3 separate regions of the Homo sapiens genome follow, and all the other regions are linked to region 1. Evidence: promoter capture Hi-C in 16 types of primary human blood cells and fetal thymus (Javierre and others, 2016). All regions are on one chromosome and are shown on one strand. The core of a region is centred on a gene start or on the middle of the fragment in contact, and the rest is flanking DNA. Distances in the headings are between cores, read along the strand shown.

Region 1 (4,765 bases), core at 1,446-3,945:
CCAGGCTGGTCTATCTCAAGTGATCCGCCCGCCTTGGCCTCCCAAAGTGCTGGGAATGCAGGCATGAGCCATCGCCGCCCCCGCCCCTCGCCCCCCTCCCCCCCAGGAGAGTTAACTTCTAAAAATTCAGCAGCTGGGAAAGCTAACAGAGCTAAGAAAGCTGGCTTAGAAAAACAATTAGGTAGTCTAGGAAGTGTCAGAACTCCAAAAAGTGATTGGAGGTACCCTATCCAAAGCAGGGAAGGATGTGGTGGAATAATAATAAATACTGGCTGGCCATGCATCCAAGTACTTTGGAGCAAGGAGGGCAGCAAACATGATTCTGAGGACGGGGGAGGATGAATCATAGCATGCCCCTAAAGGATGAGCCAGAGCAGAAGTTCTCAAACTAATTGGCATGAGAACTACTCGAATGCTTTCGGAAAAAAAAAAAAAAAAGACAGACAGACTGTTGGGCCTCCATTTCCACGTTTCCGATTCAACAGAACTGGGTGAAGCCCAGTAATTTACATTGCTAACAAGCTTCAAGGAGATGATGCTGCTGATTCAGAAGACATTTTTGGAACCAATACACCAGTGTATTAGATCAAAGTTCTTGGCCTTTAACTTATAACCAAGACAGTCTCAGAGCCCCAGTCAACTGAGTTGGGAAAGACTCCATTAAAGTGGCATGGACACTTAAAACTAGGACACTAGCCGGGAGCGGTGGCTCACGCCTGTAATCCCAGCACTTTGGGAGGCCGAGGCGGGTGGATCACAAGGTCAGGAGACAGACACCATCCTGGCTAACACAGTGAAACCCCGTCTCTACTAAAAATACAAAAAATTAGCCAGGCGTGGTGGCGGGCACCTTAGTCCCAGCTACTTGGGAGGCTGAGGCAGGAGAATGGCATGAACTAGGGAGGCGGAGCTTGCAGTGAGCCGAGATAGCGCCACAGCACTCCAGCCTGGGCGACAGAGTAAGACTCCGTCTCAAACAAAACAAAACAAAACAAAAAACAAAAAACAACTGGAAGGACACTTACAGGTGGAAAGGCAACATTCAGAACCAGAGAACAAGAATTGAGGAACAGAGAGAACTCATCAACTGTATCATAGTAGTAATTTACAATAATACAACGCTAACGCTGTGCTCAGTGCCTCATCTGCATTATTTTTCTTTATACTCAAAAAAAGACAATACAGTGAGGCAGGTATTGTATTACTACCTACATGTTTCCAGATGATGAAGCTGACACTAGAGACTTTAGGTAACTTGCTCCAAGTGACAGACCTAATAATAGCTGGATAAAACAGAAATCTTTGGTCTACTAGTCCATCACCCAGGACCAACACAAGTGGCTTTCCTCCACCTACTGATAACGCCTGTAACAATGCTTCTCCTCTCCTGGTCAAAACCACACTTTTAATGTCAATTTTAAATCTGCCCTTCCATAGTAGGATGATAATTTATGTTAACTCCTGAATTCACAAGCAATCCTAAAACAAGGTAAGTCTAAATACAGATAAGAGGTAGGTTAACTGATCTGCTGAGAACCAAGTTTGCTTGCTTATCTGCTATTTCGAGTCTCTGCACATCTAAAAATGCAAAGGAAACTCTTACCTAATTCTTGCATCTAGAATAGCCTTTCTCCAAATCCTGCCTTCTCCACTTACCTCAGAAGAATTGTTAGGATTAAATGGAAATAGGTACCGTGGTTTTTGCAGTTAAACTCAGTGAAATTAACTATTATATTTCCGTTATATAATGCTGTGTTGTAGGACCCAGAGCTCGTTAGAGAGGTGGAGCCTGGAGACCCAAGTTTGGCAGTTATTACCTCACTGGAGATAGTTCAAGTTATGGAAGGATCAAGAATGACAGATGAAGCGGGCACATGAGAAGCGAAGTGTCTTCAAGACTAAACACTAGACACTATCAGTATTTACAGGGCAAATAAATGAAAAAGAAGACGCTAATGAAATTTAAAACAAATAGTCAAAGGGATATAATGCCGGCAAGAGGCATAAGAGTGCAAGTAATTCAACTAACTTTTAATCAACTAGATCTCATTAATCCCACTCCCCTGACCCTGGGACCCGGGCACTAGGAAAGGGGCTTTGGCAAGCCCCAATGGACTCCAGAGGCTCTAAGTATAAAACGCAGTGCACAAGAAACAACACAGCACCAGCGTTGGTGCAGGATTTCAGACAGCTCCAGGAACTTCACAAGGAAGGTCAGCCGGTCCGCTCAGGCAGTCAGTTCATGGCAGCCCATTCCCTCCCCACCTGCTTGGACCTAGCCGCTCTCACACCCCTCTTGCGGGCCCGAGCGTAGCGAGAAGACCCACGCACACTCCAATGCCGCTCACAGCCGTATCAGTGAGCCCGCACCCACTCCTGGGGGTCTTTTACTTCCCACCCGATCCGGCGACCCGCCACCCCCACTCCGCGTCTCTGCCTGCGGGGACTCCACGGAGTTCGATAATTACCTAGAGCTCCACCGCGCCGCCATTACACCGGACGTACGTCACTTCCTCTTCCCGAGCACCGACGGTAGGAAGAAGGCGAATAGTGAAATATTTAAAAACTTGACGCTCAATTGGCTTGACACGTTATCCCTTTAATTTATTTCAAATACCATATCATAATACCAGAGTCAAAGTAGTCGATCCAGGCACACTGTCTTGTTGCCAAAATGGCGACAAAAAAGAGAAGTTGGCATGAACTACAAAGTCCGAAATCCAGCGCCTGTGCTGACGGAAATGAGGAAAGCATAATTGTAGTTTAGCGTGAAATGGCGCGGTGTACGATGGGAATTGTAGTTCATACAGATGCGCGCCAGCGAGTTAACATCCACGCTGCTCACTGGCAGCCTAGTAGTGTTCAGGGTCTAGCCGAATTTACTTTAAAACTATTTCACTGCATTTTGGGGAAATTTTTTTTAAAAAAGCAGTCAGTTGTCACTTTCCTTGAAAAATCTTAAGAGAGAGATTTTCCTGAGACTTTATAAGAGTTTGACCAACAGTTAAGTGCCTAATAAATTCCAAGATATCCAGGCCATAAGAATGGGAGAATATTAAATCATAAATAGAGTGAAATAATGAGGAAAAACTAATTCTATAGAGACTGTGTTGCCTCTCTTTTAGGTTAAGGTACCAACTGGTATGACCTGAGAATAAAGAGATTGCCTGGCTGAGTAGGAAGTAGCAGTTTGTACAGCGTGCAGAACTAGGGCATCAAACAGTTTCTTTAAACTTCACTTTTCACTAGTAACAAAACCTAAAAGTTCAACTACTTGCTATTTTGGAAACTCTCTTCCTAAACCAAGAATATCTTTATGTTATCAAATCTTTCATAAACCAGGACTGGTTTCTCCACACACTTCTCTATTACAGTTTTAGGGTGCTGTGCTTCCACTCCTTTCTGGAGGCAGAGTGTGATGATTAAGAATAAAAACACTGCAGTTGGACTACTTATTTTGAATCTTGAGTCCTTTTATTATTTATGGATGACTGGGGCAAGTAACTTCACATTCTGTGGCCGTTTCCTGATCTGTTAAATGGAAATACCAATAGTATCCATCCAGGCAGTAGTTTTAAGAATTGAATTAGTTGATACACAAGATGCATTTAAGATAATTGCTAGTATACAATAGTGTTATCTATTTTATTTCATATTTAAGATATTTGGCCATTGTTGATGGTGCATTTTGGTGCACCAATACAGGGCACAGGAGATGGATCTGGAGATGAACATTTGTATTCATATATTTAAAAACCCACAATACTACCGGTGATGGTTAATTCTGAATGTCAACTTGATTGGATTGAAGGATGCAAAGTATTGATCCTGGGTGTATCTGTGAGGGTGTTGCCAAAGGAGATTAACAGTTGAGTCAGTGGACTGGGGAAGACAGACTCACCCTTAATCTGGTGGGAACAATCTAATCAGCTACCATCGAATATAAAGCAGGCAGAAAAATATGAAAAGGCAAGACTGGCCTAGCCTCCCAGCCTATATCTTTCTCCCATGCTGGATGCTTCCTGCCCTCAAACATTGGACTCCAAATTCTTCAGTTGTGAGACTCAGACTGGCTCTCCTTGCTCCTCAAGCTTGCAGACAGCCTATTGTGGGACCTTGTGATTGTGTAAGTTAATACTTAATAAACTCCCCTTTTTATATATATATCCTTATATATAGATATATATATTAGGATATATATATAAGGATATATATAAAAAATAGGATATATATGTAATAGGATATATATACGTGTGTGTGTGCGTGTGTGTGTATCTATCTATCTATCTATCTATCTATCTATCTATCTATCTATATCCTATTAGTTCTGTCCCTCTAGGGAACCCTGATGAATATACTACCTCTACAACTATCAACAGAAATAGGAAAGTTAGGGTTGAGCAGAGGAGAACTAGATGGAGCTGGAAAAGAATTGGATTTGTCAGTTGGGTCCTTCAGGAAGCAGACACTGAGAAAGAGTTATGAATAATAAAGGTGAAAGGAAAATGGAGGAAATAGTAGCTCCAGAATAAAGATGAAGAGGCCTACAATGGGATGAAATGGCTAGGCCCTTGTACCAGTTTTGCTCAGTCACTGGCTAGAGCCACCCCAAGAAGAGTGTGGCCTCAACTAAAAACCCAAGGTGGACATGAAGATTCAACAGTTGAAGGCTGTCACCTAACCACACTGCTTGCAGCTAGGCTACAAGCAAGTCCTTTCTTGAAGAGGTATCTGAGCAGCATCTCTCTGTGCCTGTCACAGTCTC
Region 2 (4,765 bases), core at 1,304-3,803, 2.5 Mb before region 1:
CTCTAGGAGCACAGAATAAAGCTTTCATTTGAGTTTTAGGTACAGAAGCTTTCACTCAAATGGCAAAATATGGGGTCATTGTGAAGTCATTTTCTTTTTAGAATCAAGAAGCAAAGCAGGGTACTTTGAATGTGAGTTTTAAAGATATATATCCTGAAAATAAGGACAACAAGTGCCAGGGGAGTTAGGAATGCCCTGTCTTCCCAGGCCTCAGCACCAGACTTCTTGACTCTGTGTGGTTCATAAGACTTTGTTGTTGCCAGCAGCAATCTGAATCTGGGTGGGTTCCTCTCTGAGAGCCAGGGTAAGGAAGGGGACAAATGGCATGGTTCACCTTTATTTCTTAGTGGTGTGAGCAGTCAGGATTTCCTTATACATTACTAAGCAGGAAATCCCAAATGCCCAGCAGCAAGGGGTTAAAAACCATTCTGAAAAGCTTTTTATGTTCTGAAAAGTTAAATTACACATACATGAAAACCACAAACACATAGCACCTGGGTAAATAAATTGTGGCCAAATAAAGACCAGGCTATTTGCAAAAGGGAATCTGGAAAACATTTGTTTTTGGGTGGTTAACATTAGTTACACTTTATGCTTTTTTTTCCCCCTAAAGAAAATAGTGTGGTTTAGAAGAAACAGGAAAAAAAAAAAGAATTTTAATATGGCCATTGAAAACAAGATTTCAGTTCATTTACTTTCCAAATCTTAAGGGGCTACCAAGACTGACAGGGGCACAAAGCTACTGCAGCAACACTTTTAGTACAGAAGTTGTCAAACAAAGAACATTTCCCAGACATTGAATGTGCTATGGGATGCAGTGAAGAGGTCACTAAACATTGCTTGTCCTCCACATGTGAGACTAAAGCATCAGTGGTAAATGATAGCAGCTCAGATAATTAAGATTTAAAATGCCATAAATTCAAAACCATTGAACTTCACAATAAGCCAAATTTCCTGGTATAATACAATTTGAGCACTCAGGAGGTCATGCTACAGAGGAATTATGCTGAGCATGTTTCTTATCAGTACTTATGTGGCTAAGTGGTTCCTTTTCCTTGAAGGAAAAAATCATCTCATTATGGCAGAGGTTCCCTATCATTCAGAAGAAAGCTACTAGGTTGAGCTATGAGAAACTGCTAGTTTTGTACATCAAAAACTGTCAAAATCAACAACTGCATATGATTCAGTCTAATACACTTGATTTTTCTAAGCCAGGTCAAGTTAGGATTGACAGTTACTTTTTGTGGGAAGAGAGGAGTGAGGAGTGGGAAATCAAATAGTAAGGCTCTTGTAAGGTTCAGAAAATAAAATGCCTGATCAGAATGCATGTGGTTCCCAGTGGGAACTCCAAATAACTCTTGGGAGTTGCGGACATGAAATGAACATTACAACTTAGAATTGACCTTTTTGGTCAGACCTGGTGGCTGAGATTTTTCCTTATTCAAGAGGCTACAACATGGAAACACTGTACAGCCAGCATATCCTAAATTGCAAACACAAAGGTAGGAATTAAGAACTGAGAACTGGACCCAGTGATTTGTGCCAGTAGTCCCAGCTACTTGGGAAGCTGAAGTGGGAGTATGCTTAAGCCTAGGAGCTGGATACTAGCCTGGGCAACAAACATAACAAAACCTGTGTCTCTTAAACAAACCCCTGAGTTCTCAGGATAGCTCTGTTATTTCTCACAGAGATATTTAAAAAGTTATCATGGAAAATAGTAACAGTGTATCTTGTTCATATATTTAAATTATTAAAGGGAACAAAAGAAAACCAGGGAAATTTGTTCTTTGATAATCGTTCATTGTCTCTACATTATAGCACCATAATTTTGTTAAGGCAACAAAATTTTTTACTGACTTTTGCACGTTAAAACCACTTATAACCTAAGGAATTTTGGTTAGGTAAAGAATTATATCCATATGAATAAACACTGCCAAAATATCCTAAAGTCTATATAAAAAGTATGCATTACAAATTAATGAGTGTAAATTGTGAGACTACTCTCACACAATCCCTGAAATGATTATTTAAAGACTACTCTTAACTATTACTGAGATAGTGCTTGGTCCCTGAATGATGTAATCCTTGTGCAAAGACCCCTCAAGATACGTCAAAGCACAAAAGATAACAGAGGAAAGGAAACAAACGTATTACAACTTCTGATATAAACATTCCTCATAAGTTTGGAATTTTTCATAACTCCTGGGGTAAAAGTTCTTAGAATATGTCACTTTCTGGGAAATTTAACAGCAAAAGTTTTAGCTACTTTTTTTTTTATAATGCATAAGTGTACAAAGTTCAACATGTAACAAATATAAAGATGCCAAAGGGTAAATAAAGCGATGCAAATTTACATAACAAAGCCATTTGATAAATGCCACTATCAGCTATTACTATATATTCCATCCTATAATCTCATAAATCAAAGCTTTTAACTGCCTAGACTCATATGTGACTGTATTCTTTCCAACATGCATTCTTTCTTCTTCCAGGGGTTGTTCAATAACAGCAGGTATGTTTCTGCCATGAAGTTCACAGTGTTCTAGAAACTGGACACATTCTTGAATAACACTATCACGAAGCATGATTGTGTGTTTTGACATGTTTTCTAACAAGGACAGGAAGCATCTTTTGGCATAATACCAGGTGTCTGTTCCCAGCTTTTTGTTGTAAGGTTCCAAGCTTTTGATAACTCGAGAAATACCAAAGTCATAATTTCCTTTGGCACAATAAAGAGTTCCTATCACCAAATTCACAATGCAGAGATGGTACATTTTCTTATCTGGGTCATCATAAGAGAGCTGCTCTTCCTCCTTTTCAATCTTCCTCATCAACTCCTCTGCTTCTTCATTTTGACTTGTCATAATATAGGAAACACAGAGATTAGCCAGTACAATAGCACTGACATTCAGGATGTTATCATAATGCTTCTTGACTATGGGTTCATAGAAACCAATGGCTTCTTTGTATTTGTTTTCCTGCATGAACAGAACATGAGCCACATTCAACTTCCACACATCATGGTCGTTACAGAATTCCACAGATTTGCGGAAGATCTTTTCCACCATTGGATAATTTTCAAGATTCCAGTAGATTTTTGCCTGAGCCATCAACACAGGAATGTATTTCTCCATGGTTTCATCATATTCATTCACTGCCTTTTTGATAGCTTCATCATCTCTATTGTGTCTTGCTTCCTGTACTTGTATGGTAAGTTTCCGGAGGACCTCAGTCAGCATCCCTGCTAGCCCATCAAGCTTAATGAAAGCCTCTTCAGGAGCTGTCTGGCAAGTGATCACAGCGTCCAAGAAGTCATAGAGATAGGGTGTGAGGAACTTATAAATCAAATGGGCATTTTCTGCCAGGACATCTGCTGCCAGGTCAAAATACTCATATTTACAGTAGAGCAGCAACAGGTTGCCAAAAGTCTCTGGAGGAAAGGGATTCTGTTGGAGCAAAAACTGTAGCTTTTCAAACCCTTCTGTAGGCCTGGCATCCATGTTCATTAGTGCCTGGTTGTGTAGGGTCACAGGGTCCAACTCTTCCTCTGCCCTGGGTGGCATGTCAGTGAGGGCTTCTTGAGCTGCCTCATAGTTTCTCAGTTGGTATTCTATAGCTGCCTTAAGGTTGAAGGCTTCCACCAGAGCAGTCTGATGGAGGACTAAGGTGTTGCCAACACTGCGAACATCAATGCCCTCAGTGGTCATGCCCACACCTAGCTCAGGGTGCTGGCGGATGCCACGCTCAATAATCTCAGCGATATGCTTCAGTGCTGAAGCATACTGTCGGCTGCTGTAATAGGCCAAAGCCAGGTTGTAGGAAAGGTCAGGCTGGTAGCCCGAGGCCTGCAGGGCGGCAAAAAACTTGGAGCATGCAGCTTCATACTGTCCCTCCTTGTAGAGCAAACAACCCAGGTTGATCTGGCCATCGGTCTCATTCTCGCCCCCACTTTCCTCTCCCCCTTCCCTACTCGGCAGCTGCTCTACCAGGCTCCTGGACCCTGGCAGATCGCCCTCGCTGTACTTGATAGCAGCTTGCAGGCGGAGGACCCGGCTGTGGTAGGCGGGGTTATCCAGGAGAAGGAAGGCGACCCGGGTGGCCTCCGCATAAAGGCAGGCCTTGTACAGGGCCTGGGCCTGGTACAGGCGGTACTGCTCCAGTTCCGGGTGCAGCTGGCCCAGCTGCTCATAGCACTCGGCCGCCAGCGCGAACTCCTGCAGGCGGTAGTAGCAGTAGCCTAGCAGCGACAGGCCGGCGCGGCTCCTAGGGCTCCGCTGCAGTTCTCCGCCCAGCAGCTGCACCGCCTCGGCGTAGCGTGCATTGCGGATGAGGCGGTACACGACCGCGGTGAACTCCCCGTCGGGGATCTGCGCGCCGCTCAGGCCAGCCATAACCACCACGGCTGTTATGGGTGCGGTTACTATGGCAACAGAGCAACCGGAAGCGGAAGACTGCCGGTTTCCTTGTCGCAAGAAATCTGTTAGGAACAAAAAGGGACCACTCTCGTCAGTCTCTCAATTTCAGCTTGATCTTCAAATACTCTGGACTGCGGAGTGGCGGCATTCAGGAGGGGAAAGACTACTCCGGGCCGTTCAGAGACTGAATCTACTCGTCCCGGCATGCACCGTTCCAGTGGTTCCGCGGCGCGGGTCGTAGCCGCGCTGCATGCTGGGAGACGTAGTCCCGGCTGTACCTACCGAACCGGCGGCCCGTGGGGGTGCAGGGTAACTCTCCTTCCCTGCCTCTTAAAGATGAGGGGCGCTCA
Region 3 (4,765 bases), core at 1,336-3,835, 2.4 Mb before region 1:
CTTACTAGGGTCCTGCTTGCATAGTATAATTTTAGCCATTTGCTGTTTTGAATTAAGGTATTCAGTCATTGATATTGATGTGTTTTATTTCACAAACGTGCAAATTTCACTTTTGAACAAGGATTTGGGCCCATTTTATATGTTCACATGATATTAATATTTGCAATCAAGTTATTGGCAGGTCTCACTTAAACTAACAAATGCTTATTTTTCACACTAGAAATGTACTTATAAGTCTCTATATTCTAATAATTTTTCCTTATGAAGCAAGTCCTTTTCTAGTAAATACACATTATGATGTTGTAGAACGGATTTCAGTATGTGGTGGATCAATCTTGGCCCAAATCCAAAGGAGCTGATTTAATTAAACAACCAAAAGAACCTCAATTAATAGTGGTATCAAGTATAGAGTAATCACTTAGTAAAGACTCACTCCCCAAGAGAATATTAAACACTATACCTATGGCTAGTAAATTAATTACCGTTTGGCTAATGTCTGGCCCTATTTTTCAATATAAAATGATTATAGATTACAGTAAGGCAAGTGTCCTCTAAAGTTGAGTATATTTAATTCCCAGTGTTACAGAATTTAAAATGATACAAATACTGCATGTCTTTAAAATTTCAGTCTGTTTTTCTACTGAGTTCAAAAAGTTTAAAAGATGGAGGCTACCACAAATATATAAAAAAACTTCACTCTATTCTACAACTTACATAGATCTAGTACTTTTGGTGAGTCCTCTTAAAATTTTTTCTGGCATTACCAATCTGAGAGTCACTTTTTATCAATATATGTTATCTTGTTTTGCAAAAATGCATTTTTAAAAGGTTTCCAAAGTCACCTTGATAATCATAGTGCTCACTCACTTGACACTTACTGCTAAAAGGTTGTTATGCATCTTTTATACCTGGTTGAGGTTCAACTTCCAGCTATCAGAGAAAAATGTCCCTATAATTCTATAATTGACAAAAGGGAAAAGATAAAAAAGGGAAAGAGAACAGGGTGGTAAGAAAGATTGATTTTTCATTTCTTATCTTGTGATACATGCTGCAGCAGTAAACACCACTATCTCTCAAGTAGACCCTTTGAAGACAGGGGGAGAAAACACTCCAAGAGAAAGCTTTAAACTAGAGATTGCCTTCCTATTCTATGTGGCTTTGACCTTTTGGAAAGTGCATGGCCTCTTCTCCTTGTATTAAATAAAACAAGAATATGAGGACTGATGATTTGATTTGGTGAGTTAGTTATGGAAGTAGTTCTGGCATCTCTTATTTCCATTCTGTTATCCATTACTTCTGTTCTGTTAATGGCAGCAGACACTTGATTAACTACTGAGATTTGGACATGCAGGAGATCCAAGGTGGATTGTGAAGTACATCATTAGCTAAATCTCCATTACATCTTCACTTCACCGGTTCCTCTGTTTCCAGATTTCTGGCAGACTGGCATCTAAAGGCCTTCATGTTAGAAGCAGGAGAGGCTCTAAATATTTCAAGAATAATTGAGGAAAAAATACACATTATAACAGCTTGTCAAACTACTGAATGGAACGGTGGTTCATCATTTTTTGGAAGGATTAAAAGCAAATCTCCTCTTCCCGAACAAAAACAAACATTAGTACAAAAACTGAAAGAGGAAGTTAAGAGAATTATACCATTTCTAAATACTTATAAAATTATTAATTTATGCGCAACCATAACAGAGACTGGGGACCACCCTATATATATTCATAGCTACGGCTGTAAGCAAAAATTCCAGGTAAAAAGGCAAAAATCCAAATTTCTTATTAATAATCAGTATAACATCCAACAATAACAATCACTTACCATAGGGGTTAACATTTACTGTAAGCCAAAATCCTAGAAAACATTAATATAAAATACAATTATATATTTCCTAGCTGATTTGCTTATATATCCAGGTCATAAAAAAAGAAAGGCAACTTTTTTCTATGTGGCTTATACAGAATCGGATGTTACAGCTAAAAGTAATTGTAAAGGCTTCTGATAGTTCAAATGATTGTGAAATCCCAAAGAATAAAGGAATTTCTGACAGCCTAAAATTAGAAGGTATGGAACTCATACTTTTATTCTTCTCATTCTCAGTTCAGTGCTTATTTTTTCCTAAAAAATTAAAAAGTAAAAATTAAAAATTTCAGTTTTTAAAAAACCAAAAATATTAATAAGCTTCCACACTTAATATATGTCAGTATCCACAAGGAGGCAAAATCATTTCTGTAAAATCAAAAATAGAACATGAAGAAAAACGTTTATTATAAAACTTAAGAAGCAACCAATCAACCAAATTATGAAAAAAAATTTTGTCACTGACCAAACCTCATAACCTGAAAAGAACCAAGAAAAGAAATTCCCATTATACTTGTACTTCTAAAAGGGCTTAGAGGTCTAAACTAGACTTCGTTGCAATCCAGAAAGTTAAAGGACTAAAAAACTGGAGAAATAGAGTTAAGAATTAGATTTATCAGACAGCATAGTCTATGCTGAGATAGCAAAATAGACATGGCTTTATTTGCTGATTGAGAAGTGGTCCAGCCGTGGGCTAGCAGTCATTTACATATCAGTGACCAAATGCAAACATACCCGTACTAACAGTGCTTTGGTCCATGACATACCCTTTTGACAGCCCAAAGCTGAAACGTCAACTCTATCTGGGGTTACTTGCTTATACAAAGATGTTACTCTAGCAATTGTTGCTTGAGGGCAAGACCAGATGATTGTCACTAGTAGGAAGAAAGCAGAAGTGATGCAGCTTACACTGCATAGTCCCTACCCTTCTGGATTAAATGAAAAAGTTGCTCAAACATAAACTTGTTCTTACAAAGTGGATAAGATTCAAAATAAGACAAATATAAAGATGCCAAGGCTAAATACAGATAAAAAAAAGTGTGGTACGTAAGAAAGCCATTTTGAAAAAAGCCACTATCAGTCATAACTACTTATTCCATCCTATAATCTCATAAATCAAAGCTTTCAATTGTCTGGACTCATCTGTGACTGTATTCTTCCCAACATGCATTCTTTCTTCTTCGAGGGGTTGTTCAATAACAGCAGGTATGTTTGTGCCATAAAGTTCACAGTGTCCTAAAAACTGGACACATTCTTGAATAACACTGTCATGAATGACTATCATGTGTTTTGACATGTTTTCTAACAAGGACAGGAAGCATCTTTTGGCATAATACCAGGTATCTGTTCCCAGCTTTTTATTATAAGGCTCCAAGCTTTTGATAACTCGAGAAATACCAAACTCATAGTTTCCTTTGGCACAATAAAGAGTTCCTATCACCAAATTCACAATGCAGAGATGGTACATTTTCCGATTTGGGTCATCATAAGAGAGCTGCTCTTCCTCCTTTTCAATCTTCCTCATCAACTCCTCTGCTTCTTCATTTTGACTTGTCATAATATAGGAAACACAGAGATTAGCCAGTACAATAGCACTGACATTCAGGATGTTATCATAATGCTTCTTGACTATGGGTTCATAGAAACCAATGGCTTCTTTGTATTTGTTTTCCTGCATGAACAGAACATGAGCCACATTCAACTTCCACACATCATGGTCGTTACAGAATTCCACAGATTTGCGGAAGACCTTTTCCACCATTGGATAATTTTCAAGATTCCAGTAGATTTTTGCCTGAGCCATCAACACAGGAATGTATTTCTCCATGGTTTCATCATATTCATTCACTGCCTTTTTGATAGCTTCATCATCTCTGTTGTGTCTTGCTTCCTGTACTTGCTTGGTGAGTCTCCGAAGCTGCTCAGTCAGCATCCCTGCTAGCCCATCAAGCTTAATGAAAGCCTCTTCAGGAGCTGTCTGGCAAGTGATCAGGGCATCTAAGAAGTCATAGAGATAGGGTGTGAGGAACTTATACGTCAAATGGGCATTTTCTGCCAGGACATCTGCTGCCAGGTCAAAATACTCATATTTACAGTAGAGCAGCAACAGGTTGCCAAAAGTCTCTGGAGGAAAGGGATTCTGTTGGAGCAAAAACTGTAGCTTTTCAAACCCTTCTGTAGGCCTGGCATCCATGTTCATTAGTGCCTGGTTGTGCAGGGTCACAGGGTCCAACTCTTCCTCTGCCCTGGGTGGCATGTCGGTGAGGGTTTCTTGAGCTACCTCATAGTTTCTCAGTTGGTATTCTATGGCTGCCTTAAGGTTGAAGGCTTCCACCAGAGCAGTCTGATGGAGAACTAAGGTGTTGCCAACACTGCGAACATCAAAGCCCTCGGTGGTCATGCCCACACCTAGCTCAGGATGCTGGCGGATGCCACGCTCAATAATCTCAGCGATATGCTTCAGTGCTGAGGCATACTGTCGGCTGCTGTAATAGGCCAAAGCCAGGTTGTAGGAAAGGTCAGGCTGGTAGCCCGAGGCCTGCAGTGTGGCAGAAAACTTGGAGCATGCAGCTTCATACTGTCCCTCCTTGTAGAGCAAACAACCCAGGTTGACCTGGCCATCGGTCTCATTGTCGCCTCCACTTTCTTCTCCCCCTTCCCCACTCAGCAGCTGCTCCACCAGGCTCCTGGACCCTGGCAGATCGCCCTCGCTATACTTGATGGCAGCTTGCAGGCGGAGGACCCGGCTGTGGTAGGCGGGGTTATCCAGGAGAAGGAAGGCGACCCGAGTGGCCTCCGGATAAAGGCAGGCCTTGTACAGGGCCTGGGCCTGGTACAGGCGGTACTGCTCCAGTTCCGGGTGCAGCTGGCCCAGCTGCTCATAGCACTCGGCCGCCAG

The links. Contacts are between HindIII fragments. The CHiCAGO score rates a contact against its expected background, and 5 or more counts as called.
Region 2: a fragment that was not itself captured here is called in contact with the fragment with the promoter of CWC22 in region 1 in 1 of 17 cell types (non-activated CD4 T cells); the score reaches 8.4 in non-activated CD4 T cells.
Region 3: a contact is called between a fragment that was not itself captured here and the fragment with the promoter of CWC22 in region 1, in 1 of 17 cell types (activated CD4 T cells). The highest score is 5.6, in activated CD4 T cells.

The regions. Positions count from the first base shown.
Region 1 is chr2:180,004,602-180,009,366 of GRCh38, forward strand. CWC22 (CWC22 spliceosome associated protein) reads right to left here and starts at 2,696. Exons shown (of 20, transcript NM_020943.3): 1 at 2,266-2,696. RefSeq lists an enhancer at 1,844-2,376. The HindIII fragment of the contact is 3,569 bases long and covers 521-4,089 here.
Region 2 is chr2:177,548,373-177,553,137 of GRCh38, forward strand. IFT70B (intraflagellar transport 70B) reads right to left here and starts at 4,424. Exons shown (of 1, transcript NM_152517.3): 1 at 626-4,424. The coding sequence starts at 4,391. The coding sequence ends at 2,394. RefSeq lists enhancers at 3,424-4,228, 4,229-4,765, 4,401-4,690. The HindIII fragment of the contact is 254 bases long and covers 2,427-2,680 here.
Region 3 is chr2:177,613,751-177,618,515 of GRCh38, forward strand. It overlaps IFT70A (intraflagellar transport 70A), which reads right to left. Exons shown (of 1, transcript NM_152275.4): 1 at 1-4,765. The coding sequence ends at 2,954. IFT70A-AS1 (IFT70A antisense RNA 1) reads left to right here. Exons shown (of 3, transcript NR_198966.1): 2 at 3,551-3,770; 3 at 4,538-4,765. Among named protein-coding and RNA genes, the nearest start is that of IFT70A, 2.6 kb to the right of the region's middle. The HindIII fragment of the contact is 801 bases long and covers 2,186-2,986 here.